Regions from separate parts of the Homo sapiens genome. Here regions 1, 2, 3, 4, 5 and 7 are each linked to region 6. The links are contacts of gene promoters, found by promoter capture Hi-C in blood cells and fetal thymus (Javierre and others, 2016). All regions are on one chromosome and are shown on one strand. The core of a region is centred on a gene start or on the middle of the fragment in contact, and the rest is flanking DNA. Distances in the headings are between cores, read along the strand shown. Region 1 overlaps PKHD1 (PKHD1 ciliary IPT domain containing fibrocystin/polyductin). Region 2 overlaps PKHD1 (PKHD1 ciliary IPT domain containing fibrocystin/polyductin). Region 3 overlaps PKHD1 (PKHD1 ciliary IPT domain containing fibrocystin/polyductin). Region 4 overlaps PKHD1 (PKHD1 ciliary IPT domain containing fibrocystin/polyductin). Region 5 overlaps MCM3 (minichromosome maintenance complex component 3). Region 6 holds the start of TFAP2B (transcription factor AP-2 beta). Region 7 overlaps IL17F (interleukin 17F).

Region 1 (3,497 bases), core at 31-2,530, 1.2 Mb after region 6:
GAGATGGGGTTTCATCATGTTGGCCAGGATGGTCTCGATCACTTGACCTTGTGATCAGCCCGCCTTGGCCTCCCAAAGTGCTGGGATTACATGCGTGAGCCACCACACCTGGCCAGCTTTTAATCTCTTAAATCAATTGTTACTTTCTACTTTGTTCTATGGTTATTTGTGCACATGTTTTACTTTTAGACTGTAAGCTTTAGAGGGCAGAGTTCATATTGATTTGTCTTTGTACACCAAAAAGTGAACAACAAAAACTATAACACATAAAAACTCTTCAAAGAAAATATGGGGCACAGCTGAGAGACCCAAAGGACATGACCTTTTCAAAGTAGACTTAGAAAACACAGGCTATAGGGAAATAGGACCTCAATCAGTCAAAAATTATGGAATTTAATGTGTATATGCTCACATGCATGCACGCATACATGTCGGGCGTGTGTTTAGAGGACCTTGTCTCTTTTCTGGGAAATAAGTTTCTAAAAGAAGACTTGCTTGGAACTTAAATTCCTAAAACTAACTCAATGAGTAAGATAATCTCAGGAATAAGACATCACATTTTTGTAAACATCTTCACAATGCTGTTAAAGAGATATCCTATTTCTTTGACAGCAAGGTTATAATGACCCCTCAGGTCGCCAGACTCCCAGTCAGTGCTCCTGCTACATGGGACTTTATTCCTTCCAGAGTTCAGCTCCATGGGACTGGAAAGAGACACAGACCTGTACTTCTGGAAGCCTCTGGGCTCGGACTCGGATCTGGTGCTTCTCCCGTAGGTAAGTGGTGACCACATCAGGATTCAGCCAGGTGTTGTGAATCTGGACACCAATCCTCATCCCCCTGCTTGGGGCTATCCCATGATGCTCTGCTTCCAGGTAGTACATGGCTCCACCCAACAGCTCCAACTTGGGAGTCTTCTGCTGCCAGGTCCCTTCATCCCTATTCTGCTCCCAGGAGTCAAACCAGTCAGCAGTGCCGACGCTGATGGAGGCCACTTTCACCTATGCCCAAATAAGCATATCATGATCAATACTATGCAGCTTCCAGGCATCTCTTTCTCAAACACTAAGTGTCTGAACTGCTACTATCAAGAGAGTTTTGAACTGGTCTGCCTTTTTAACATATTAACCCAGTTACCTCAGCCCTGTGGTTATTTATGCTTCTCCAGCTCTCTATCTATCTATCTATCTATCTATCTATCTATCTATCTCTTACAATTGAGTAGTACTCAAATGAGAATAGATGGGCCATGTTCAGAGAAGGAACAACCAACCTAAACCCTAGGATTACATGACACTATGGAGAAGGTAGTATTAAGCCCTTCAGAGACCTCGAATGACTTGATCACATCAAAATCTATGACATTTCTCCAATAAACTAGCAAATCAATTTCAGACATACATAGTAATAATTTGAGGAAAATATTGTGATTCTTTGTCAATAGCATAAGTGCATTTTGGCTGCTGTTAAAGGCATCTTTTCTTATCCTTCAATGTTGTTGAGGAATTCCTACATACAGCTGCCTACATCTCCACCCAAAATTAGTGGAAAAGGCACAAGTTTTGTAGTCAGGTAAATTTGGGGTTGAATCCTCAATGTGCCTTTTGCTATCCAAGTGGATTGGGCACACAATCTTTCTTTTTTTTCTTTTTCTTTTTCTTTTTTTTTTTTTTTTTTTTTTTTGAGACAAGGTCTCACTCTGTTGCCCAGACTGGAGTGCAGTGGCAGCCACGACTGCCCAAGGCTCAGGTGATCCTCCTGCCTCAGCCCCTCAAGTAGTTGGGACTATAGGCATGCGCCACCATGCCTGGCTAATTTTTGTATTTTTAATAGAGACAGGGTTTTATCATGTTGCCCAGGCTGGTCTCAAACTCCTGGGCTCAAGTGATCTGCCTGCCTCAGCCTCCCAAAGCACTAGGATTACAGGAATGAGCCACCACACCTGGCCCACACAATCTTTCCAAGCCTCAATTTCTTCATGTGGAAAAGATACATACATATATCTTTATGTATATATGTGTATATACACACAAACACATACATAATATATATACATATATACATACATACATACATTTTGCAGAGATGCAGTGAAAACTAGAGACAAGGTCTATAAAAGATGTAGCATAATATTTGGCTTACAGTAAATGCTCAATAAATAGTACGTTCACATTCAAACAAGTTCTTTTTCAACAATTAAAGTTCCTGATCATCCAATGGCATGTTAAACTATCTGTAAAACATGAGAGCCTTAACTTTGATTCTTTCTTTCTTCATGGGTATGGGACTGGCAACAGAGAAAAGGAAAATGAGAAGACAGTGAATACCTTAGTCCTTGGTTCCTCTGACCAACTGAAATGCAAGGAAGCTTGGCTATCTGCCTGAATCCAGAAAGTGTAATTATTTGTCTCTGGAGCCACAAAGAACCCACTGAGCCGTGCTCTGTAAAGTAGAACATAGAGTCAAGCAAGAGTAACCAAGGCCTGAATCACTGAACCAACAAATGACTGCCCTTGTACTTTGTCTTCTTTTATGGTAATAAAGAAGAACAACCTGATTCTTATGCCACACAATTGTCCAGAATATTCTAGAAAGAGATATAGCACCTGCCTAGTCTCAGTAGCCCAATACATCTCTACACTGGACACAAATACCCTTGCTGTTGTGTCATGTTTGGGAAAGTTGTAGCCACAGCACACAGCTATACGGAAGCTTAGCTGACAAAACCACCTAACACAGCTATTGCAAGCCCTGGATCATGGTAGAAGCTCAATCTATAGTAAATACTATTCTTATTATTAGAAATAAAGACAGATTGCTTATGAGAATTTGCTCTGAGCTTACCAGCTACCTCAACACCTGCAGAGAGCATTTTTCTAATTAAAAATATTATGATCCACAGATAAGCGTCAATTCAAAATGTCAACAATTTCAAATTAAAACCCATCAAATGCAACTTTGAAGAAGATTACAGGCAATTTCATAAAACATTTTTTAAAAGATAATATTTTTAATATTTAAATTCCAGCAACCTAATATTATAGGCAGATATAGTTAAAGAACTGATTAGACTCTGTAAATAAATACCAAGAATATTTTCTGATAATGCTATTTTCTTAAATCTTCAGATGATCAATATAAAGATGTTTTTAAATTTTGCTTTAATGTACATACATTATCTTTATTTTTGAGATAATTTCATACCTAAAAATAGCTTCAAACATAACTACTTTAAAAGTCCACAATATAATTATATTAACTTACCAATAAATGAATATTTTAATTTTTTAATTTAAAATTTTTAGATTTTAAAGAGATTAATGAGAGAGGGAATGGAAAATTAGTTACTACCTGGCTTGTGGTTCCTCAAAATGGCAGTTAAAGGGACATACCCTGCAACACTTACTATAGAAGTCAAAATGTTCTTTTGCCTTTTGGGGTAGGCTGACTCACTCCTTAACACTCCCAAATACACCAAATGCAGCTGAAAGATTTTC
Region 2 (3,752 bases), core at 589-3,088, 1.2 Mb after region 6:
AGACATGGAAAGAGCCATCTCATTAGTGAGCCCTGAGCTGCTGGATCAAGCCATTCCTATGACTCCTTAGTTTTCCTGTGCTGTGAGCCAGTATAACATCTTTATCATCGGTTCTGTGAGCCAATATAGTCTCTTTATCAAATGATTTGAGTCATTTTTCCCTTGTGATTTAAGTCTTCATAACAAATTTTTTTAAGTAAAATTTAAAGAGAAAAAATGAAAGAGCATAAGTTTGGAAGCTATCTATAAACAGATTATAGAGAGCTATGGAAATGGATGTAAAATATATTCTTTATTTGAGGAAAGTTTCTTGATGCACAATATTCCAGTGTGTTTCTTAGAAGGAAATAAATAGAGACTTAGCACAGGCAGAAATGCCAAGAATAGTCATGTCTCCCCAGAAACTTCCACTGTTTGCAACAACATTACAAAGAAAGTGATTAATTTCTCAGTACTAGAAAATCCCACAGAGGATCTTCAGGGCATCAGGACTGCAGATGAGGGTGGAAACACATCACCGATGACATGGGAGGAGAGTGGGAGTCCAGAGGATGAAAAGAGGCTGAATGATATCAAATGTCCAGCCACCTTTCCTCACTAAGTCCCATCAGTCGTTTCTGCCTAATGGTTCCATCTCATAGCTTAACTTGTCATACTTGCCATCAAGAATGTAAATCCAGTTCTGATTCCCTGTAGACTCACAGAAAAACTAATTAAAGACACCATGTGGAATAGAGTGGGTCTGCCACAAGGCTGCAGAGCCACTTGTTAAAAATGGTGTCATCAGTTAAGTCTGGCTAGATTGCACGTGGCGATAAATAATCCCAAGTTTTCAGCGGAGCAATACAACAAAAGCTTATGTCTTGTTCACACAACATCCACTACAGATGTTGGCAAATCTCTTGGACAGAACAACTGTCCCCCATATGTTGAGGACGTATGTTCAGCCCACACTCTGGGCTATTTAGTCAACACAGAAAAAAAAAAAAGGCTAGAGATTTGAGCTCCAGAAATTCAGTGCTTCTACCCACATTCTATACAAGTCCTATGGCCCTATCAAACTTCAAAAGGCTGGGAAGGGAAGTGCTTCCTTGACCTCAAAATAAAGAACTGGATATTGGAGATCACTGTCACAGAGGGAATAACTGCAAAGCTGCTGCAAATTCTCTTAGGTAAAGGAGAAAAGGAGTCTAAAAAATCAACTAAGTATCCATTAATTTGAGGAGGTTACTAGCACTTAACTGGAAGTAAGGGAACTCTTCAAAATATTCCAAGTTATTCTGCATCTCCCATCAAAGGGAGAACCTGAGAAGACTAGTTTAGTAATTATAATATTCTAGAAAGGAGCTAGAGCTTTCTTTGTAAAACCTATAGAATCAAGGCATGCCTTTCCTGTTGTTTATTTGTTTGTTTTATTGTTTATTTTGTTTGGTTTTTTTCCCTTTTTTTAATGTATATACCCTTCAGGGTAGTTTATTCCCTCATTAAATGGCTACTTTTCTCTTTTATCCTCTAGAAAAAACACATTTCCTTTCTTCTGGTGTAGCTGAAATGATCCATTGGTGTGTATTTTATGGACAATATCTTCTCATCTGCACACTTTTCTGCTGATTTACATTTATGTTGGCTCCATGGAGAGATACAACCAGAAAGGGACTTTGTGGCATTGTTGGGATATCCACAACCCTGCCACTAGTCTACCATCAGCTAACTCCAGCCAAGGACAGCCAGGGGACTAGAAGAGGTGTTGCCTAACCCTCCTACCAGCAAAGCAATTCAAGAAGACAGTAACTAAAATAAGCTCTTAGAGGAGTTGTGCCTACACACCCTTATTTGACCTGCCCGAGGAGATTAGCTCAAAGCTGGAATGCACCAGTGGAAAAAGAACAGAAAGTGGAAAAAGCCTATGCCTGAAACTACCATTTTATAGAGTTAATGCAAGTTAACATCCACTCATACATACAGTAATACCATTAAGGTCATTTCTATCTCCAAGTAACAGCCTTTATCTAAAACCAGTTCAATATTCTTCATTCCTCCCAATGCTCCTGCCTCTCCCTTCTGGTTCCCCTTCTTTTCTCCTCTAACTCCCTGAGACACAGGAGTTTTTGTTTTTGTTTTTTTTCTGAGCTGATTTTCAATTCGATGAAGTCCGTTTCCATAACACTTTTAATATCTGAATAACCCATTCATCTTTACCCAAATTTCTTCACCTTCCAGGCTCCAGCTGCTCTGCGCTATCTGGTCAAGGTTCCCTACATTTCCTAATAAAGATGTGCATGTTAGGAGCAGTTACTGTGGCTCTTTAAAGTAAGAGCAGACTTCAGTGCTGTGGGAATAAAAGCAAGGTCTTTGGAGGGGAAGATTTATGGCTGAATCAACAAGAATTAAAAAGAGGACAACCCTGAGGAGAAAACCCAAGTTCTCCAAATTGACTGAATTGCCTTTTGTATCTCAAGGCTGAGATGATTATTTGTTTTTGCAAATAGAAATGCTATGTATATTAGACTCAAAACTGATAACATATTAGAGCTTTCAGCAAAATAAAAAATGTTTAACATGTCTAGTATAGAACCACATATCCAAACACTGATGAAATTCATATTACTCCTTACTCAACACAAATACACAACACATACCACAACCACCACCACTAACACACCACACCACATATACCACTGAAACCCATTCAACTACTATCTGAGACCCTTCATACCTGGGAAAGGAACCTACTCATAGTTGGGTGCCTTTAATTCTTCATCAGGCTTCAGGGAGATGGTAGTTTACTACTATGCATTCAAGAAATGGACCTGTGGAAAAGCAAGCTTTTCTCGCACATGAAGAATTAAATATACTGATAAAATAACATATTGACATATCACAGTTTTCACATTCTGTTACTAAGGACTTCCATAAAATCTTTCCATGTCGCTGGTCGAGAAATAGCAACTTGAGATTACAAAACTGAGTTATCCAGTCACCCAATGAGTCAGCAAGTAAACTAATTTGAACACTTCTGGTTCTTCAATTACCAAGCCTCACCTCCCCTGTAGAATCCAAAGAATCCCCATGTGAGGCCATTGTACCATCTATAGCAATTTCATAGCAAGCAGGCCTCTCTGCAGGATAGCTAAAGTTTCATATTTGGAAAGGCTCAGAAAAAAAATGTAAGCATTATACTCCTATAGTCAAAAACAAAAATCCCATGACATATGGTTTCATTGAGAAAATTACACACAGTATTTATTTAGAAAAAAATAATTTCAATTTATGAAGTTGTACTTTAGAAGGAAATAAATAATCATGTCACATTCCAATAGGACTACCTTTTGTCTGTCATTCATAGGGACATTTTCACAGGGCTAATAAAGCTCGCGGTTTTCCACTGAGCACAGAAACTGTTATTTTAAGATAAAAGTTAAGAGTAGTGTAGCTGAGATAATGCAAACTCCTATATGGTGATGTAATAATTACTCAGTGATATTATAATAAATTTAAACACATTGTAAAGAAAAATAAGGACTTTTGGGAGCCAAAATATGACAAACACTCATCAAAACCACAGCCTTATTTACTGATAACATATCTTGATATGAGAGGAGCAGGCTAATATCATAAACTCATTTGATACAAAGAGTCCCTGAGAAACAAAAGAGGCACAATTAACTTGTTCAGATGAGTTTAAGCTGCATTCAGGCTAATTTCCTGAATTCCCTCTTTTTTTCCAATTAGATATATTTTTATTTATGTGT
Region 3 (3,807 bases), core at 959-3,458, 1.2 Mb after region 6:
AAAATATAGTCCAGAAGAAATGCAGATCAGTATGAGGCTATAGATTAGGATATAAGTGACATTTCACATAAGTGCAAAATAAATTATTCAGTAAATAAAATAAGTAAATATCACTGAAAAAAAACTAAATTTGAATTTCTACCTTATATGCTTCACCAAAATAAATTCCCAATTTATCAAATATTTAAATATTAAAAAGAAAGTTTTTTGACTAGAAGGAAACATGGCAGAATTTTTATTTTCATATAATTTCAGAGTTGCAAAGTCTATCCTAAGTATTTTAGAAGTCCTGAAGCCATAAAAGGAAGATATATTTTATTATGTAAAAATTAAAAATATTTACGAATTTCCAAAATAAAAAACAAAGAGACAAATGATAATAAAGGGCAAATATCCTTAATACATAAAATGCTCTTTAAAATCAGTAAGAAAGAACAATAACCCCATTAGAAAAAATGGGCTAAGGAGATAAACAGACATTTCACTGAAAAGGAAACACAATGCCCCTAAACACATGAAAAGATATTCAATTTCTCTCTCAATAAAATAAACACAAATTAAAACCACAATGAAATATTCTTCTTCTCCTATAAAATAGGTAAGTGTCAAAAGGGTTGGGAACACACCGTGTTAGTAAAATGTGGTAAATAAACACTCATATATGCATTGTTGCTTAGGCAATAAATTATGCAACCTCTAAAGAGAATCTTTTGATATTTATCAAAATTTTTAATGCAAATAACCTCTTGACCCAGCAATTCAACTTCTAGGAAATTATGCTACTAATATTTTTGCACATGTACAAAATGGGACAACTCCATATACAAAATAACAAAGTTGGACCCTGTTTAGGGCTGAATTATGTCTCCCACATCCCCACCAAAATTTAGGTTATTACCCTAGATCCCAATAACTCCAAATGTGACCTTATTCAGAAATGGGATCTTAGCAGATGTAATTAAACTAAGATGAGGTCACACTAAAAAAAAGATAAGCCCTAATCCAATATGACTGGTGTCTTTATAAAAAGGGGAATTTGGGCCAGGCGCAGTGGCTCACGCCTGTAATCTCAACACTTTGGGAGGCCGAGGCAGGCAGATCACAAGGTCAGGAGTTCGAGACCAGCCTGGCCAGCATGGTGAAACCCTGTCTCTACTAAAATTACAAAAAATTAGCTGGGCATGGTGGCTTGTACCTGTAGTCCCAGCTACTCAGGAGGCAGGAGAATTGCTTGAATCTGGCAGGCAAAGGTTGCAGTGAGCTGAGATCGCACCACTGCACTCCAGCCTGGGCAACAGAATGAGACTCGGTCTCAAAAAAAAAAAAAAAAGTTGGCAGGGGTGTGCAAGGGGGAAATTTGGACACAAGCAAGACACAGGGAGGATACCATATGAAGGTGAAGGCAGAGATTGGGGTGGTGTTCTACCAGCCAAGGAACACCAAAGATTGCCTATAAGACACCAGATGTTAAGAGACAGACATGGAACAGAGTCTTCCTCAAAGTTTGGTTCAGAAGGAACCAACACTCCTGACACCTTCATCTCAGACTTCTGGCCCCCAGAATTATGGGACAATAAATTTTTGTTGTTTAAAACACTCAGTTTGTGGTACCTGATTGCAGCAGCCCTAACAAACTAATACAGACCCCTACCTCATACCATGTACAAAAATTAACTCAGAATGAATCAGGTACCTACATCTAAGAGCCAAAACTATAAAACCCTCAGAGGAAAACATAGGCATAAATCTTTGTAACATTGGATTAGGCAATAGTTTCTTAGATGTGACACCAAAAGCACAAGCAATAACAATAAATATAAACTGGACTTCAACAAAATTAAAAATTTGTGTGCTTCAAATAACACTATTTTTAAAAAGTGAAAAGGCAACTCACACAATGGGAGAAAATATTTGCAAATTATTTATCTGATAAGTGATTAGTACCCAAAATACTTTAAGAACTTACACCTCAACAATAAAATGACAAATAACTCAATTTAAAAATTGGCAAGATTTGAATAAGCATTTCTACAAAGATGTATAAATGGCCAATAAGCACATGAAAAGATATTCAACATTTTTAGTCATTAGGAAAATCAAAATCACAATGAGGTATCATCTCATGCCCATTAAGATGGCTACTGTGAAAAATAATAATAACAAGCACTGGTGAGGGTGTGGAGATATTGTGATATGGTTTGGCTCTGCGTCCTCACCCAAATATATCAAATTGTAATTCCCAATGTTGGGGAAGGATCCTGGTGGGAGATGATTGCATCATGGGGGCAGATTTCCCCCTTGCTGTTCTTGTGATAGTGAGTGAATTCTCAGAAAACCTGGTTGTTTAAAAGTGCATAGCGTACCCCTCTTTGCTCTCTCTCTCCTGTCACTATGTGAAGATGTGCTTGCTTCCCCTTCACCTTCTGCCATGACTGTAAGTTTCCTGAGGAATCCCCAGTCAAGCCTCCTGTATAGCCTGCTGAACTGTGAGTCAATTACACCTCTTTTCTTTATAAACTTTCCGGTCTCAGGTAGTTCTTTATAGCAGTGTAAGAATGGACTAACACACATTGGAACCCTCTTATATTGCTAGTAGGAATGTAAAATTATGCAGCCATTTTGGAAACAGTTTGGCAATCCTTCAAGAAGTTAAACATGGAGTTACCATATGACCCAGCAATTCCATTTTTAGGTATATACCCAAAAGAACTGAAAGCATATATTCCTGCAAATCATTGTACACAAATATTCATAGCAGCCTTATTCATAATAATCAAAAAGTGGAAACAATCCAAATGCACATGATGAGATGGATGGAAAACAAAATATGGTATATCCATACCATGTAATATTGTTTAGTCATAAAATTGAATAAAGTACTGATACATGTTACAACATACATGAACCTTAAAAATATCATGCCAAGTAGAGAAGCCAGATGTAAAAGGTCACATGTTGCATTATTTTATTTATATTAGATGTCTAAAATAGGCAAATTCACTTAGACAGAAAATATATCTGTGGTTACCAGGGATTGGGAAGAGGGAGAAACAGTGACTGACTACTAATGTATACAGGTTCCTTTCCATGATGATGAAAATGTTGTTGAATCAGGTGGTGATGAGGTATACAACTTTGTGAATATACTGAAGACTGCTAAGTTTATACTTTTTAAAAATGAGTTTTATGATATGGGAATTATATCTCAATTTTTTAAGTTAAAAAAGAGATCCTTGGGGTAAAGAAAAGAATAAAATATCCTACCTATTTCTAAGGTATACTACCCTAGGCCAAGCCAACATTATCTCTCCCCTGGATGTCTGTCATATCCTCCTAACCGGTCTTGCTGGTTCCATCTTTGCCTCCCTACTGTGAGTTCTCACACAGCAGCCTAAGTCAGATCATGTCACTTCACTTGAAATCCTCCAATGGCCACCATCTCACTCAGAATAAAAGCTGAGTGAGCTGAGGGCCATTCATATCCCCCAAGGCCATATAACTTGCTTTGGGTCATCTTCTACTGCTCTCCCCTCACTCAATCTACTCCAGCCATGGCAACCTCCATGACATTCTGGAACAAGCCAGTCTAACTTTGACTCAAGACTTTTTGTTCCTTGATGTTCCTTCTGACTTGAACTGTCTTCCCCAAGATTTCCCCAGAATTCATTCCTTCACTTCACCCATATCTCCCTTCTCTAAGGCCACTCATGTCATTCCTCCAATGCCAATGACTATACCATCACAACCATCTACTCCATCCCTCTTCATCCCCTTCCCTTCTTGATTTTTATCCTATACACTTACCAT
Region 4 (3,402 bases), core at 798-3,297, 1.2 Mb after region 6:
GACCAACTTTTTTATGTTTGGTAACAACTCATGTTTTCTCTTCTGTGAAATTCCTGTTTCTCTCATTTGCCCATTTTTCTATTGGGTTGTTTGTCTTATTGACTTGGATAAGTTTATGAATTTCTTGATTTTCACATAATTATAAACATTAGCATGTTATAGAGATAAAAAGCAAGTATTTGAAGCATGCTGACTCTCAGGCCATTTTTTTCTGAGTCATGACCCACATATAAAAAGCATCATGAGGCAGACTGGGAATGATCTTTAACTAGAAGATGAACAAAGCTCCACATGAGATGGTTTAGGAGCAGCTCTGTCTGAAAACCTTAATAAAGAGGGAAAATTTAAAAAAATCTCTGTAGCCTGCTTCCTCTGCAGCAAGCCTGCCCATGTGGGTAATGCAACAGAGGTTATCAAGGGCCGTGGGCTTAGACCTGTGCTTCCCCGCCTCATTACAGTGCTGTGGCAAGGGTTACATGAGATAAGTACGTGGGGGAGGGTTTGTAGTTATGCAATCATGCCCAAATAGTACTATTGTTGCTGTTATATTCTAAAGCACCTGGCACCTAGGAGGTTGGCTGTGAATGTGTTTTGAATGAATTAGAGCAATAAAAATGACTGACAGTAGGACTCTTGTATGAACAGACAAAACATAAGAACTTTCCAGTTAGTAAGCCCTAAGGCAAATAAAAACAAGCTCCACACCTATAAAATAATGAATTCATTAAAGGTGATTAAGTAGATGCAAATTGACAAGCAGGATTATGAAAATCACCCAGGGCTGGGGATCAAAATCTATGGGTTTTACTCAAAGTTCTGCCACTAAATAGCTGCGTGACCTTAATCACTTTAGCTTTCCATGCCTTATGGAAAAGTTAAAGTTTCCATGAAAATGTCATGTGGTATAATTCAAGGTATAAATGCAAGAAAGCCAAAGATCAAAGATTTTGCTCATTTTAAACAAACACAAAGTATTAGTTTCACCTAACAGGATGTTTTGGCAACTCATTACAAGAAAAAGGAAATTTCTCCTATGGTTAGAAGTACAGTTTGTGGGGATGGTAAAAATGGGTGACCTCCAAAATAGCAAAAGCACATTTGTAGAGCCCCCTGCTTTAACTCCCCCTGCCCCACACATGTAAAGAAAACATATTAGTTCTGTGGCACAGGCATAAACAAAACAATAATTAAGAACGTTTGAGTTCAGGGTCATTATCTGTAACCTGGAATGTGAAACATCACTCTATGGTACAAAGTCAAACTGAAGAAAAAAACTCAAAGCACGGGTCAGAATTCAAAGCGACCTTGGTAAATGAGAGAAGTTAACAGAAATAAACAAAAGAACAAATGAAAAGAGTAAGACAGTAAACTACAAAAGAAAAAAAGAAATCATATAAATATGAGGAAAGTCCAGCTGTGCACAGCCATGGTAGAAATGCGTGCGTGCACACACACACCCCTTGGGATAACAGTAGGTAACAGAAAGCTTATTAACCAGCAAGACTGCAGTATAATTGTACAAACAAACATGGGATCAGACGATACACAGGCATCTTACGATGCTACCCAATTTGGCCAGAACTTGCTTGTATAGAACAGCTTCCTCATTTGGGGCTTCAAATTAGGAAAGAATATAGGATTTCAGAGAGGGCTGAAAAGTGAGATACTAAAATGTTTACTTGGAAAGTTTCTGATTCAGTAGGGCCCAAGAATTCACATTTCTAACAAGCTCCCGGGTGAGGCCCTTGCAGCTACTGCTCTGGGAAGCACACTTCCAGAACTGCTGCCATAGAGGAACTAAGAATACTCCACTTTCCAAAGAACCACCCGCTGATTAAGGTTGAAAAAATTAGAGTAGGGGAGCATCCATTAGGCAGAGGATGGATTTCTCTGAAAAGAGCAACTGCGAAACACTTGTAAGGGTTGCTGCTGGGAAATTCTCCCCTGAAAAATCTTTAAAAATACAAGTGATTTTTAGCTAACTTGGTTGTACTCAATCCTGTCTGAAAATGGAGAAATTAGTAGTAGTTTCTAGTAATGTCTAAGACCTATCCCCTTTGACATTTGATGTCCATTATAGACCTACTTCCTAGGGAAAAAAAAAAAATACACAGTCATACACTCAAAATGCTTCATCCAGTTTCAGCGGGTTAACAGAATCCCCAAATCCCATCTTGGATCTTAAGTAAGAAACCTCTGGAGTTGGCTCTCACAATTTCCTCTCAATCTTTAGACATTGTGATTGAAAGTCTTTTAAAAGACTTTTTTATGAAAGGAAAATTAGTTAAATTATGCATTCCTCTAGAGTAAATGTGTGCCTTGCACAATCAATGAGTGTTTGGTGACACCTAGTGGCCATATAAATAGTTACAGTTTCCAACTAATTTTCCTCTTTAAAAAATCATGGAATGTTGAGTTCTTTTCTAAATCTTTCTAAACACAATAATTATTTTATTATTCTTCCCCAAGAAGTTATAAAACTTAAAATATCACAACTTACCTGATCCTGAAACATCATTGATTTTTATCTTATACTAGTTGAAATTAAGTGTTTTGAAATAATAACACGGGGCTTTTAAAAGTATATTAATTTGAGCAGTGTATATATGAAAGCTTTTTTAAAAAATGTAGCAGTATTAGTTAAAAATTAGAGCCTATAAATGTGCAGTCTTAGCTTTCTGTTTATGCTATCTCTCATTTATTCCTCACCAAGCACTAATTTTGCACATACCCTCTGCAACACTGTTCCTAGCAGAGGAGGTAGAGCAGTGAATCAGACAATGTTTTGAACTTCAATCTTCTATTGTATCTTAAATTTCCCATTGTGGACTCTATCTCTCTTCCATAATGTGTTTATATACATGATGATAATAGGAAACTCAATTTCTAGCATTTTAACAAAAATTTTTTTCTCCTCCCCTTCTTCTTCCTCTTCCCTCTTCCCCCTCCTCCTTCCCCTCCTTCTCCTCTTTGTATAAGACAACACAGCACAAATTTCCATCACAATAGCATTATCCATCATTAAATTCTCATCCAAGCTCAGATGATGTGGTGCTTTTATCATTTTGTAAATCTTTAGCCCACATTCAAGTTGCAGACAAATAAATTAGGAATAAAACTTAAACACTACACAGAAAGGAGGTATGTAAACGGTTAAGTGCACAGGTACAAGATTTATGATTAGGCAAATAAGGTAATCACCTGGCTAAATGTGAGCTATCTCAAATGTAGTAAGGTCCTGTAGTAATAACAGTAATTTCTTCCTTTTGACTTTATTTCCTGAAGCTCAGTGGGGTATTACCATGTGTTGTGAATCCCCAAGCTTTGCAACTTACTCTCTCATCTCTTTCCCCACAAAGACACGGCTTCTCATACCACAATTTATATGATCACTACGCAGCT
Region 5 (3,516 bases), core at 738-3,237, 1.5 Mb after region 6:
TCAGACATGAAACTACTTCCAGCCCGGACGTGGTGGCTCACATCTGTAATCCTAGCACTTTGGGAGGCCAAGGCAGGCGGATCACAAGGTCAGGAGCTTGAGACCACCCTGACCAACATGGTGAAACCCCATCTCTATTAAAAATACAAAAGAAAAATTAGCCCGGTGTGGTGGCGCATGCCTGTAATCCCAGCTACTCAGGAGGCTGAGGCAGGAGAATAGCTTGAACCCGGGAGGCAGAGGTTGCAGTGAGCCAAGATCATGCCACTGCACTCCAGCCTGGGCAACAGAGCGAGATTCCATCTCAAAAAAAAAAAAAAAAAGAAAAAAAAAGAAACTACTTCCTTCTGTCACACCTCCCGGGTCTCCCATTATATGACCCCATCACTGACGTATCCTGGTCACTTCTTGTTTCAAGTTTCCTAAATTACCATGTATATCCACAATGACATTCAAAAATAAATACATTCACATTTAAATTCATTCATCAAATCTTGTAATAATTTAGAAAGCTACCGGAGTTTGGAAGTCATACACTCCATGACAAGTTCTAATTCTTAAACCACCTAAAAAGCTGGTGAAATCCTGGCCTGCACTAGCAGACCTAGAGAATCCAAATTCTCTTGGAATTCACTTACAGACCCCACACTAAGACAATTAAAATAGTGTATGACGCTCAGTTCTAGGTTCAATGAGAGGGCCTGGGACACACCAGAAGTTCGCATGTGGAAAGGAACAGTTAAAAAGAAAGTAAGCTGTTTAATGAGGAAGACAGGCGATACACAACCTCCAGAAAACAAGACTAACACCCACAGGTAAAAGTTGTGGGAAAATAGGTTTAAGCTTAATAAATATTCTAAAATTTCAAAACAGTGATGCTCTGCGCATGCTGTCACTGGGGGTATTAAGAAGTCCCGGCCGGGCTCATGCCTATAATCCCAGCACTTTGGAAGGCCGAGATGGGCGGATCACGAGGTCAGGAGATTGAGACCAGCCTGGTCAACACAGTGAAACCCCGTCTCTACTAAAAATACAAAATTAGCCGGGCATGGTGGCACGCACCTGTAGTCCCACCTACCCGGGAGGCGGAGGTTGCAGTGAGCCCAGACCATGCCACTGCACTCCAGCCTGGGTAACACAGCAAGACCGCATCTCAAAAAAAAAGTCCCAGCAGGGATTTGAAAAGACAGAGTGGGTGAGGCTTGAGTAGATGATCTGGGATCATGTCTAATCCAAGAATCTATGTCTATGTAACATAATAAGAGTTCTGGACTTGGGTCTTTCTGCTGTAAAATCCTATGTGAACTACACTGCCCCTAAAAGATTTAGACAAATTTGGGCCGGGCATGGTGGCTCACACCTGTAATCCCAGCACTTTGGGAGGCCAAGCCGGGCGGATCACCTGAGGTAGGAAGTTCCAGAGCAGCCTGACCAACATGGAGAAACCTGGTCTCTATTAAAAACACAAAATTAGCCGGGTGTAGTGGTGCATGCCTGTAATCCCAGCTACTCAGGAGGCTGAGGCAGAACAATCGCTTGAACCAGGGAGGTGGAGATTGCAGTGAGTTGAGATCGCGCCATTGCACTCCAGCCTAGCCAACAAGAGTGAAACTCTGTCTCACCAAAACAAAAACAAAAACAAAACAAAAAAAAGATTTAGACAAATTCATGGACACCTATATTAGGTTACCAGAAATTGCTTTGAATAACCATCATGGTTGCCTGTTAGTCATTTTTTCAAAGTCCAGTCCAAATATCATACTCTCTGGGAATCCTTCCTTGACATTCATACCCCTTCAGGGAAGTCTAAAAGAAATTAACAGTTTATTCGTCTATGCTCAAATAGCCTTTCACGTTCATTCCTTTGTAAGTACCACACTGGGGTAAATATTTATAAATATGTACGGAAGTCTTTCTATCTACCTTTGTGCTTCCCCCGCTCCGGATCTGAGCTCTTTGAAAAGAGTGTTTATTAATTTTACATTGCTTGTAAGAGGAAAGACTAGGTCACTTCCCAGAAGTCACTCCTATGTTTGCTGAATGAATCACAGCTTCTGGAGGCCAATGTCATTTTAACTAATAAGAGACATGTTATCTCTGGGGTCCTTATTTCATTTTCCTTTATAAAAGGAAATGATTAAAATTGTATAACAGGAAGCCCTTCAGACCAGGAAAAAAGTCACTAAGTTAAAATGCTTTCAAAGCTCCCAGATAGCAGGGACTCCTGCCCAGCCATATACCTAAGGGACCCCAAGCCTAGGCTCCCCCAGGCACTCACCCTGGCGGTGTCTGAGCTCATGCTATCCTGGCTGCGCAGGCGTGAATACTCTTCTGCAATGTAGGTGGCCGACTCCTGTGTCAGGACAGGCTTGATGATTTTGGCCACATGGATGTACTTCTTCATGAATGCTGCACTCACCATCTTCTCCCTGGAGCCACACACAGTGAATTCCATCTCCCTGCCACACCTTACCACCTGCCTGGATTAGTGGCTTTGCCTCTCAGAAAAGCCAGGGTCAAAACAAAGCCTAGAACCCATTATCATAACTCCCATTTATATGGAACATAGACAAGACTCTTTCACATATTTTTATTTAATTATTACAGGTATTATTTGTAAGTTAGGTAGTTTAGGCAGAAAGTTTAGGTATTATTTGCTCTATTTTGTAGGTGGGAAAACTACAGCTCAGAGAAGCTCAAGTTGACTAAAAGTTTTCTGACTCCAAATTCTACATTCTTAAACCAACAGCTTTGAAGATTATGCTATGCTTCTTACTGCATCATGGCCAAAAATAGGTGTAAGATCCCACATTTCATGCTTTGAGCACCTGATCACACGTCTCCTTCACCAAGTCTACCTACAAAGTCTCAAATGTTTGCTATCTGCTGACCCTTCATCACAAATGGCTACATGACACTTGCCATCTTTCATATATAAGGCACACCCACCATCAGGCGTATCATCAAAACTCTATTTTAAGAAAAGACCTGAACCTGCGCTGAATCACCTAAACATTTACAAGGCAACTGGCCAGGATAAAGGATATATTGTGGACCCAGAAAAGAAGAAAATTAATCCACGTGGTTATGACTCCAGGCATGGCTTTGACCTGGGCATATAAGGCCTTAGCTAAGCTTAGATATACACATGCTCTAATATAACACATATTTCAGGTTCCCTTGAGGAAGAGTTATGAGAATGCTCACTTTTTCTTCTTGGTCCCATGTAGAAGGTTGTCATGCTTCTCATAAATCTGGGTGTCCTGCTGATCTTCCTGGCTAAAGTTGGGATCATCTGTGGCCAGGATATCCACAGCACTACCCAAGGGCATAGCTGGTATACCCAAGTTAGGAGAAAGGAGAGTAATAAAGAGTTTAACCCAGGGGAAATTGCTTCTTCTATAGCACAAGAAGGGGAGACACCAAGATTCATAAAGAAAGGGCCCAAAAAGAATCAGACACATGGAACCCACAAATAAAGATAGTGGAACTGCCTGGCTCACACAAGATGCTCAG
Region 6 (3,700 bases), core at 1,119-3,618:
TAAATTTTAACCAAATATCTCAAGATATTTCCACTTTAAAAAATACCTAATACTAGCATAAAATAAAATTACACATAAAAAGTTTGAAATTATTCATATATAAGGCTATAAAATAGTTATACTAACACAATACCTTATATTATTTTAATTTATGTGTAAAATTATCTCTTGCAGGTTTTGTTTTGTTAAATCTCAGAGTTTATTTATTTTAGACTAGGCAATAATATACCAAAAAGATATTAAAAGGTGTTAAAAGCATTTAGAGAAAAAAAGTGAGATTTTTCCAAATGCATTTTATTTGGGTTGTAATGATCTTTAGGTAATAACAATGACAGAATTATTGATTTGAAAGGGAGAAAACAATTATTTCCATTAATTAAATGTCTTGTGCCTGGAGAATCTGAACTTCCAAGTCTATAATATTTATCTTTCAGATTATTGATCTGGCACTGATTTTAGTTCTAGAAGTCAGGGGGTGTGGAACCCGTTTCAAGTCCCACCACACAATAAGATTAAGAAAAATCCCTTCTCATCTCCTAACTAGCTCTGGAAGCAAAGAAGAAAATCTTTGCTGATGCTCCTAGTGAAAAATCTGTATAGATTGTGTATGATTTAAGGTTAACATTTAAAGGGGAAGAAAGGAATGGAGAGAGAAAGGAAGGAACGAAAAGGGAAATGAAGGAAAGAAAAAAGGAAAACAAAAAGGAGGAAGAGGAGAAAAGGAAAGACGAAACATAAAAAATTCAACCGGAAATAAGGGGTTTATTTCTGAAGTTCCTTCTGAAGCACCTTCTTTGTGTTCTTTTCCTTTGACTTATCTTTAAAAATTAAATTAAAAATCTGCAGAATTGTTTATTCTGCAGTTCATGAAGCTTCTCCTTGGTTTTGATTGAATCGACGTCCAACAAGGTTGTCCGGAGCCCTGTACTCAAACAGCGTCCATCCCTGTTCGCGCAGAGCTGCACACAGCAGTCCTGGATTTAAAGACAATCACCCTTTGCAGATTCACTCTCACCAGGCTTAATAACTTCCACCCCAAATTGCCCCATCCCTCCTCGGTCCCTCCTGGCATTTCTTTTCTGTCCCAGGCGCAGAGATCCTCTTCTGGGCGTCTGTTCCGGCTATGAGAAGCTCTCCGCACCCTGAAAGGGAGTAGAAAAACAGAGGGGATGGGAAAGGGGGAACAGGGGAACAGATGAGTATTCATTTCATGATAAAATTCAGAATCCCTGCGCCTTAAATGGTGCCCATTTTCTAAGTCTGGTTAATATTGTTCTTGTTGCTGATGATGTTTTCCTTTTTAAAAACTATATGAATCATCTTATTAAGAAAAATTATACAAAAAAAAGAAGAAACTCCACATGCACTAAAATATTTTTCACTATCTCTTTGAAGACATTCTGCTTAAACCTTTTCAAAGATTCGGGTGGCCCTTTCTTGACTCTCCATGATTAAAACCACTTACAAGTCATACACAACAGATGCAAATATAAAATGTCCTTGGCCTCTGCAAAAAAGGCTCAAAATTAACCTTGTCTGAACGTGTGCGTACGTTGCTTCCAACATCTGAAAAAAACTTGATAAAATGGAGACTCCAGCCAAGAGGAATGGTGCATGGAATCCGTTGAAAATGCATACAAACAACACCTAAAATAACAAGCAGCACAAACTGAGGTGTATTTAAGTTTCCAAAGGTTTTAGGTAAAATGACCAGAAAATATTAGAAATGGTCATCAACGGTGGCTAGCTTTTTTGTTCTATGGTGACAGAGATAAAGTTAAAAAAAAAAAAGTTGTGTAGCCATCAACACAGAGATAGTCCTTAAAATCCCCCATATCCAGCCTTTCAAAATACTCTCTTCCGGAACATACATGAATAGGAGGGAGCTTTTGTGTTTAAAAATCTTGGTAAGTGTCCCCCTTTAAAATCTACATAGAAAATAGGGGACTGATGGCCCCTGGTTTCTCATTATGAATTGCAAAGACTTCAGTTAGTGGCTACAATGATGTGTCATTTTCGATATAGAAGTTATAAAATGTATATATTATATTAATCACCCTGAACAACTCTTTGTTAAATGCACATTTGGAGTCTGCAGACTGTGTGACCCAGAGGTGCTTATATAACTATATGTGGGTGTCTGGGTGTAAATACGGGTTTATGATTTTTATAGTATATATGTCTGTGGGTTGCATCTAACTCCTGTGTGTGCAATAATGTTTTTTCTCTTTGCTGAGGCTTACTTGTCCAGCCTATTGTTTGAGACAACAGATATAAGTTGCGATGGGAGAGGAGCGTCGGATTTGGTGTGTATCCCCCATTTCCAATTATAGATGGATCATTACAGACAGCGGAGTCCTGAGAAGCCAGACATCTGCTCCTCACATGAATGCACTCACCTCCTAGAGACCAGGCTGCCATCATGCTCTGGAAGCTTGTGGAGAATGTCAAGTACGAAGATATCTATGAGGTGAGTCGACACCCCCAGATGCACCTTAGAGCTTTGCAGATAGAGAATTTGAGCTTCTTGATACCCCAAATGATATATATTTTTAAGCTATTTACTCGTAGATTTCCGGTCGGTTTTCTCAGCTTTTTTTAACTTTTAGAAAAGCTGGCTAGGGAAGACTTCGCTGCTCTGAAAAGGGACTTTAAGGCTGAAATCTGACAACTTTAATTTAGGAATGTTTTTATTTATTTTATTTTTCTTTCCCTTTTCCTCGCCTCCCCCCACCCCACCCCACCCTTTTAAGCTCTGATGGGGAATGTGGTGCTACTGAATGTGGGCACGCTCTCAGAGAAAATCGAGATTCTGATAAAGTCAGGGGCTTTTCTCGTTTTAAGTGTGGAAGAGAATTGGGTTTTCAAGCCTCATTTGTAACAGACTCGGGCTTTTAATTTTTATTTTCAATAAAATTTCTGAAATTGATAACAAATGGTTCCAAGTAGAGGACAGAGAATTAGCGGGAAAGAAGTAGATGGCTGGAGATATGGATGGATAGAGCAAAATAGAAGTCGTAGCAGTTTATTAGTTTCTGTTTTCTTGTGTTTTGCTTCCTTGAGGGTCACTGCGTCCGAACAGAAATCGCAGCCGCCTCCTGTGTGGGCATCTTTCACGGAAATTTCTGCCCACGTTCAATGCGTACGGGTCTCTAGCACTGAGGCTAGCTCAACTCTTCGGGGCAGGAGAAGTTGCGCCCAGCCAGGAGGACGCCAGCCGCCTCCGGGGCCCGGACCGCGCTCGCCAAAGCCCTTTTCCGGCTCGGGCGAGGGCTGACGCGGCCAGACGGCTCCGCTACTCGCGGGCGAGGCGGACTAGGCGGACGAGGCGGCCGAGGCGGGCGAGGTGGGAGAGGCGGGCGAGGTGGGAGAGGCGGCCGAGGCGGGCGAGGCGCGGGGCGCGCGGCGGGCCAGGCTGGGGACCGGGAAGCCCGCGGAGCCTCGCTTTTAAGCGGAATGGTCTGGGACAGCCCCAGGTGGTTGCCAGGGGAAGGGAGGAAGGGAAGGTTCTGCTGAGACGTCGAGGTTGGAAATAAAAACTTCGGAAAGGCGAAGCGGATTTAGAAAAGGAGGGAAGTCGAGGCGGGCGAAGCGGGCCATGGAGATTGCTAAGAGGAAAAGTTGGAGAGAAAAGGAAGGAAGAGAAGCAGACTCCCGGGTGGCGGGCGCGGGCCGCTAGGTCAGACGAAAGGTGGAGGGA
Region 7 (3,674 bases), core at 571-3,070, 1.4 Mb after region 6:
GCCTCACCTACTAGCAAGAGATGCATGGTCTGGCGGAACTCAGCATTCCTGTCCTTTTATGGGATCAGGGCTTCTCTTTGCACCTCAGTTCCTCACCTGGAAATGGGAACACTCACACCTAAAGGTATCAAGGTGCCAAACTGAGAACTAAACTCAGTAGCCTAGCTAGTAACTGAAGCCCTCCATAGTCTAAAAGCTCCCAAACAGTGAGACAGAAAGATGCAAGGGTCTGAGATTGAGTTAAAATCCTATCCTGGCTTCCTTGCTGAGCCTCTAGTTTCTCTTCCTTCCAACTGGATAATAATGCTCACTTTATGAGACTACTAATGAGATTAAATAGAATGTTCTATATAAAACACCTATAAATCTGTATAAGAAAAATAGAGGCTTAATAAACGATAGCTCTTGTTTTTATTTCCAACTTGATATCCCATGAATCTCCCACAAAATCCTTCTTCGGAGCCACCCCTCTACCTAGAATACACTGCCTAGAATACTCTGTCTGTCAAAATCCTACCCTTCCATTAAGGCCCAGCTCAGATGTGATCTCCTCTAAGAACAGTCCCTAAAATGGTTCAATCAGAAGCATGTTTATTATCCTTAAATTATAAAGCTTTGATCATCTAGCACTCAAGCAGCATTTTTTAATTGTCTAGAAATGTAGTATTTGTGTTCCTGTCAGATCTACACCCATTAGATTGTAAGTTCCTGCATATTACACATTTTCCATAAACACTTTTGGAATGAATGAGTGAATGAGTGAATGAATGAACAAAATGATACAGCTAAATTGAACTATATAGTTAAGCTCACTGCATTAAGAAAAACATTACGCAAAACCAACGATAGCAAAGTTCCAATTATCCATGCTAATTGAAAGAAACCGGGGCACTAATGATGCACCACAAGAGAGAATATGGAAACTATTTCTCTTTAGCTCTGGAGCATTTTTTTTATACTTACGTTGAAATGCCAGTTTATCTGGTGTTATAGGAATGCGCAAAGAATGAAAGTGCACTGAAGACCTAATGAAAAGAAAAGCTACAAATCTTGCCAGATTCCCTTTGTCACAACCATGCTTTGCTCACCCACCATTGCCACTGACCCTTACTGGGGATGAGCAAGGCCCATCACCAACTCTCAACATAATACAGAAGAAGAGCTGAAGGCCGGGTGCAGTGGCTCACGCCTGTAATCCCAGCATTTTGGGAAGCCGAGGTGGGTGGATCACCTGAAGTCAGGAGTTCAGGACCAGCCTGGCCAACATGGTGAAACCTCGTCTCTACTAAAAATATAAAAATTAGCCAGGCGTGGTGGTGCACGCCTGCAATCCCAGCTACTCGGGAGGCTGAGGCAGGAGAATCCTTTGAACCTAGGAGGTGGAGGTTGCAGTGAGCCGAAATTGCACCACTGCACTCCAGCCTGGGCGACAGTGCGAGACTCCTGCTTGGAAAAAAAAAAAAAAAAAAAAGAGCTGAAAATAAGTTGCTTTTATTCTCTAGGCTTAGCGTTGTTCAGGCTCACACCTTCCATGAGTTAAGGTAGGGAAGGTGATTAGACATGTTGGTTTCAAAGGCCTTCCTTTTCATATTTTGCAGATACTAGAGACAAAAAACAATAAGAGTAAACAAAAAGGTCATAGTGTCCATTTGCCATACTGAGGAAGCTGACACTAAAAAGAAGTTGAAAGCAAGATTGACCCAGAAGAGTCAGAATGAGGCTGATTTGCCTTTAGATAATCAGCAATCATCAACTTTCATCCCCCACAATCGTTCATTCATTCAACAACTAGCTCTTGACTTTACAGTGTGGTAGCTCAGGGCATGGGCTTCAGAGTCAGAAGTCCAGGGTCTGTAACTCAATTCCAGGACTCTTAGAAGCGATGACTCTGTTTCCTCAAAAAAAAAAAAAATGTGAAGATTAAATGAGATGATCCATATAAATTATGAAGAACACTGGCAGCATATGATAAGTATCCAATACTGGCGACTCTTGCTAACTCTATATTGTGCTACACAGTGGACTAGACAGATGTGGAATTTACACTCATATACCTTGTCTTGACAAACTGCTATGGCGTTTGTTTGTTTGTTTGTTTGTTTGTTTGTTTTGATGGAGTCTCACTCTGTCGCCCAGGCTGGAGTACAGTGGCACAATCTTGGTTTACTGCAATCTCCGCCTCCCAGGTTCAAGCGATTCTCCTGCCTCAGCCTTCCGAGTAGCTGGGATTACATACGTGCGCCACCACACCTGATAATTTTTTGTATTTTTAGTAGATATAGGGTTTCATCATGTGGTCAGGCTGGTCTTGAACTCCTGACCTCAAGTGATCTGCCCACCTCGGCCTCCCAAAATGCTGGGATTACAGGCCTGAGCTACCGCGCCTGGCCTGCTATGACTTTTTTTTTAAAAGATGCCAACTTATATTAGAGGGTCTTAGATAACTTCCCAAGCCTACCAATCACATATTTAGGGTTCTTAAGTAAATTCCTCCTTTGTGTTTTCTCTTTCCTCTTCTGTGTCATACTCACTGAATCACTATTAATTTTCATTATGAAAACTTTTAAATACATACATTGGAGTTATATGACTTAGCAATAATTACAATGCTTCTAACAAGTCATTATTACATTTGCTTATATATTCTTAGAGTATATTAGAAAATTCTTTTACATCTCTTTAAACACTGGATTTTCACAACTACCTGGTGAGGTAATCAGAGCTAGTATTAATTATCCCAATTAGACAGGTGAAAGAGTTCTGTCCCAGAGGGAATAAATAACTTGATTGGGTTCACCAGCCTATGAGTACCAGTCTGGGGACTCAAACCTAGGTGTCAGTAGTCAGTGCTATTGTCATTGAAGGTCATTTTTATTATTACCAACATTAATCTTAGTTTTGTCTCATTAGAAGAGCTAAGTGTTTTAGGTAATGTGACAGCTGTACTAGATGTGCATAAGTGTTGTAGGTCACATAGCTCGTTATCAGGAAATCAGATGATGTCTGCAAATACTCCAATTTGCTCCACAAAGCTTTTGATCTGAAACTGTAGATTTTAGTGGTTATGTAATACAGAGCAGGGGCTCTGAACCAGGCTGTTGCTGGTTCTTAAGAATGATTTAAACAGCACCTCTCAGAGAAATCCAGAGCATGACTTGAACTCTTATATGCCACCTATAAAGCAGATGAATAGATATCGCTCTCAATCTGTATAATAGGGGACAGGGGCAAGGGAAAGCACCAGGTGAAGGTGAGCTGTAACAGGACAACAACCTTCTCAGCCTAGCTTTGCACCTCACTCTAATGTGAGCTCACCTGAGCAACCTGAACATCCATCCTCTATACTCACCAGCAATGTGTGGACACATGTAAGCATGCACCTGGCCAACCTCTAGGTCCATGAGAATTTGCCTCAACTACTTATTGAAGATGTCCTATCTGCCTGCACCTCTCAACTTCTAATCCTATTCCAATGCTCCTTGCACTGTTATGTTTCTTGCTGACAACCCAACAGATTTCTTTAAGGAAACTAGAATTAGAAATAGCTATGGAGCACAAAGCTACCCAACAGAATTGCTTGGATGCAATGGCTTTAAATTCACAAATCTTGCCTCTGAACCAAAGAAAAGCATACTGTATGTGGAGACAGAAAGCTTAGATTGGTGTACCAGTTC

What was found. Contacts are between HindIII fragments. The CHiCAGO score rates a contact against its expected background, and 5 or more counts as called.
Region 1: a fragment that was not itself captured here is called in contact with the fragment with the promoter of TFAP2B in region 6 in 2 of 17 cell types (total B cells and naive B cells); the score reaches 7.0 in total B cells.
Region 2: a contact is called between a fragment that was not itself captured here and the fragment with the promoter of TFAP2B in region 6, in 10 of 17 cell types (total B cells, endothelial precursors, M2 macrophages and 7 more). The highest score is 10.7, in total B cells.
Region 3: a contact is called between a fragment that was not itself captured here and the fragment with the promoter of TFAP2B in region 6, in 9 of 17 cell types (naive B cells, neutrophils, total B cells and 6 more). The highest score is 13.4, in naive B cells.
Region 4: a fragment that was not itself captured here is called in contact with the fragment with the promoter of TFAP2B in region 6 in 17 of 17 cell types (monocytes, megakaryocytes, fetal thymus and 14 more); the score reaches 35.8 in monocytes.
Region 5: a fragment that was not itself captured here is called in contact with the fragment with the promoter of TFAP2B in region 6 in 1 of 17 cell types (neutrophils); the score reaches 7.2 in neutrophils.
Region 7: a fragment that was not itself captured here is called in contact with the fragment with the promoter of TFAP2B in region 6 in 1 of 17 cell types (neutrophils); the score reaches 6.0 in neutrophils.

Annotation. Positions count from the first base shown.
Region 1 is chr6:52,057,601-52,061,097 of GRCh38, forward strand. It overlaps PKHD1 (PKHD1 ciliary IPT domain containing fibrocystin/polyductin), which reads right to left. Exons shown (of 67, transcript NM_138694.4): 15 at 2,328-2,442; 16 at 723-1,001. Among named protein-coding and RNA genes, the nearest start is that of PKHD1, 28 kb to the right of the region's middle. The HindIII fragment of the contact is 2,171 bases long and covers 196-2,366 here.
Region 2 is chr6:51,997,249-52,001,000 of GRCh38, forward strand. The region is part of intron 35 of PKHD1 (PKHD1 ciliary IPT domain containing fibrocystin/polyductin); the gene reads right to left. Among named protein-coding and RNA genes, the nearest start is that of PKHD1, 88 kb to the right of the region's middle. The HindIII fragment of the contact is 1,970 bases long and covers 854-2,823 here.
Region 3 is chr6:52,037,061-52,040,867 of GRCh38, forward strand. The region is part of intron 27 of PKHD1 (PKHD1 ciliary IPT domain containing fibrocystin/polyductin); the gene reads right to left. Among named protein-coding and RNA genes, the nearest start is that of PKHD1, 49 kb to the right of the region's middle. The HindIII fragment of the contact is 9,281 bases long and covers 1-3,807 here.
Region 4 is chr6:52,018,820-52,022,221 of GRCh38, forward strand. The region is part of intron 33 of PKHD1 (PKHD1 ciliary IPT domain containing fibrocystin/polyductin); the gene reads right to left. Among named protein-coding and RNA genes, the nearest start is that of PKHD1, 67 kb to the right of the region's middle. The HindIII fragment of the contact is 1,127 bases long and covers 1,485-2,611 here.
Region 5 is chr6:52,270,023-52,273,538 of GRCh38, forward strand. MCM3 (minichromosome maintenance complex component 3) reads right to left here. Exons shown (of 17, transcript NM_002388.6): 11 at 3,208-3,334; 12 at 2,279-2,429. Among named protein-coding and RNA genes, the nearest start is that of MCM3, 13 kb to the right of the region's middle. The HindIII fragment of the contact is 2,292 bases long and covers 842-3,133 here.
Region 6 is chr6:50,816,503-50,820,202 of GRCh38, forward strand. TFAP2B (transcription factor AP-2 beta) reads left to right here and starts at 2,369. Exons shown (of 7, transcript NM_003221.4): 1 at 2,369-2,470. The coding sequence starts at 2,390. LOC124901490 (a long non-coding RNA gene) reads right to left here and starts at 2,524. Exons shown (of 2, transcript XR_007059923.1): 1 at 2,400-2,524; 2 at 743-1,142. The HindIII fragment of the contact is 1,562 bases long and covers 871-2,432 here.
Region 7 is chr6:52,238,988-52,242,661 of GRCh38, forward strand. All of the region lies in intron 1 of IL17F (interleukin 17F), which reads right to left. Among named protein-coding and RNA genes, the nearest start is that of IL17F, 3.7 kb to the right of the region's middle. The HindIII fragment of the contact is 2,419 bases long and covers 612-3,030 here.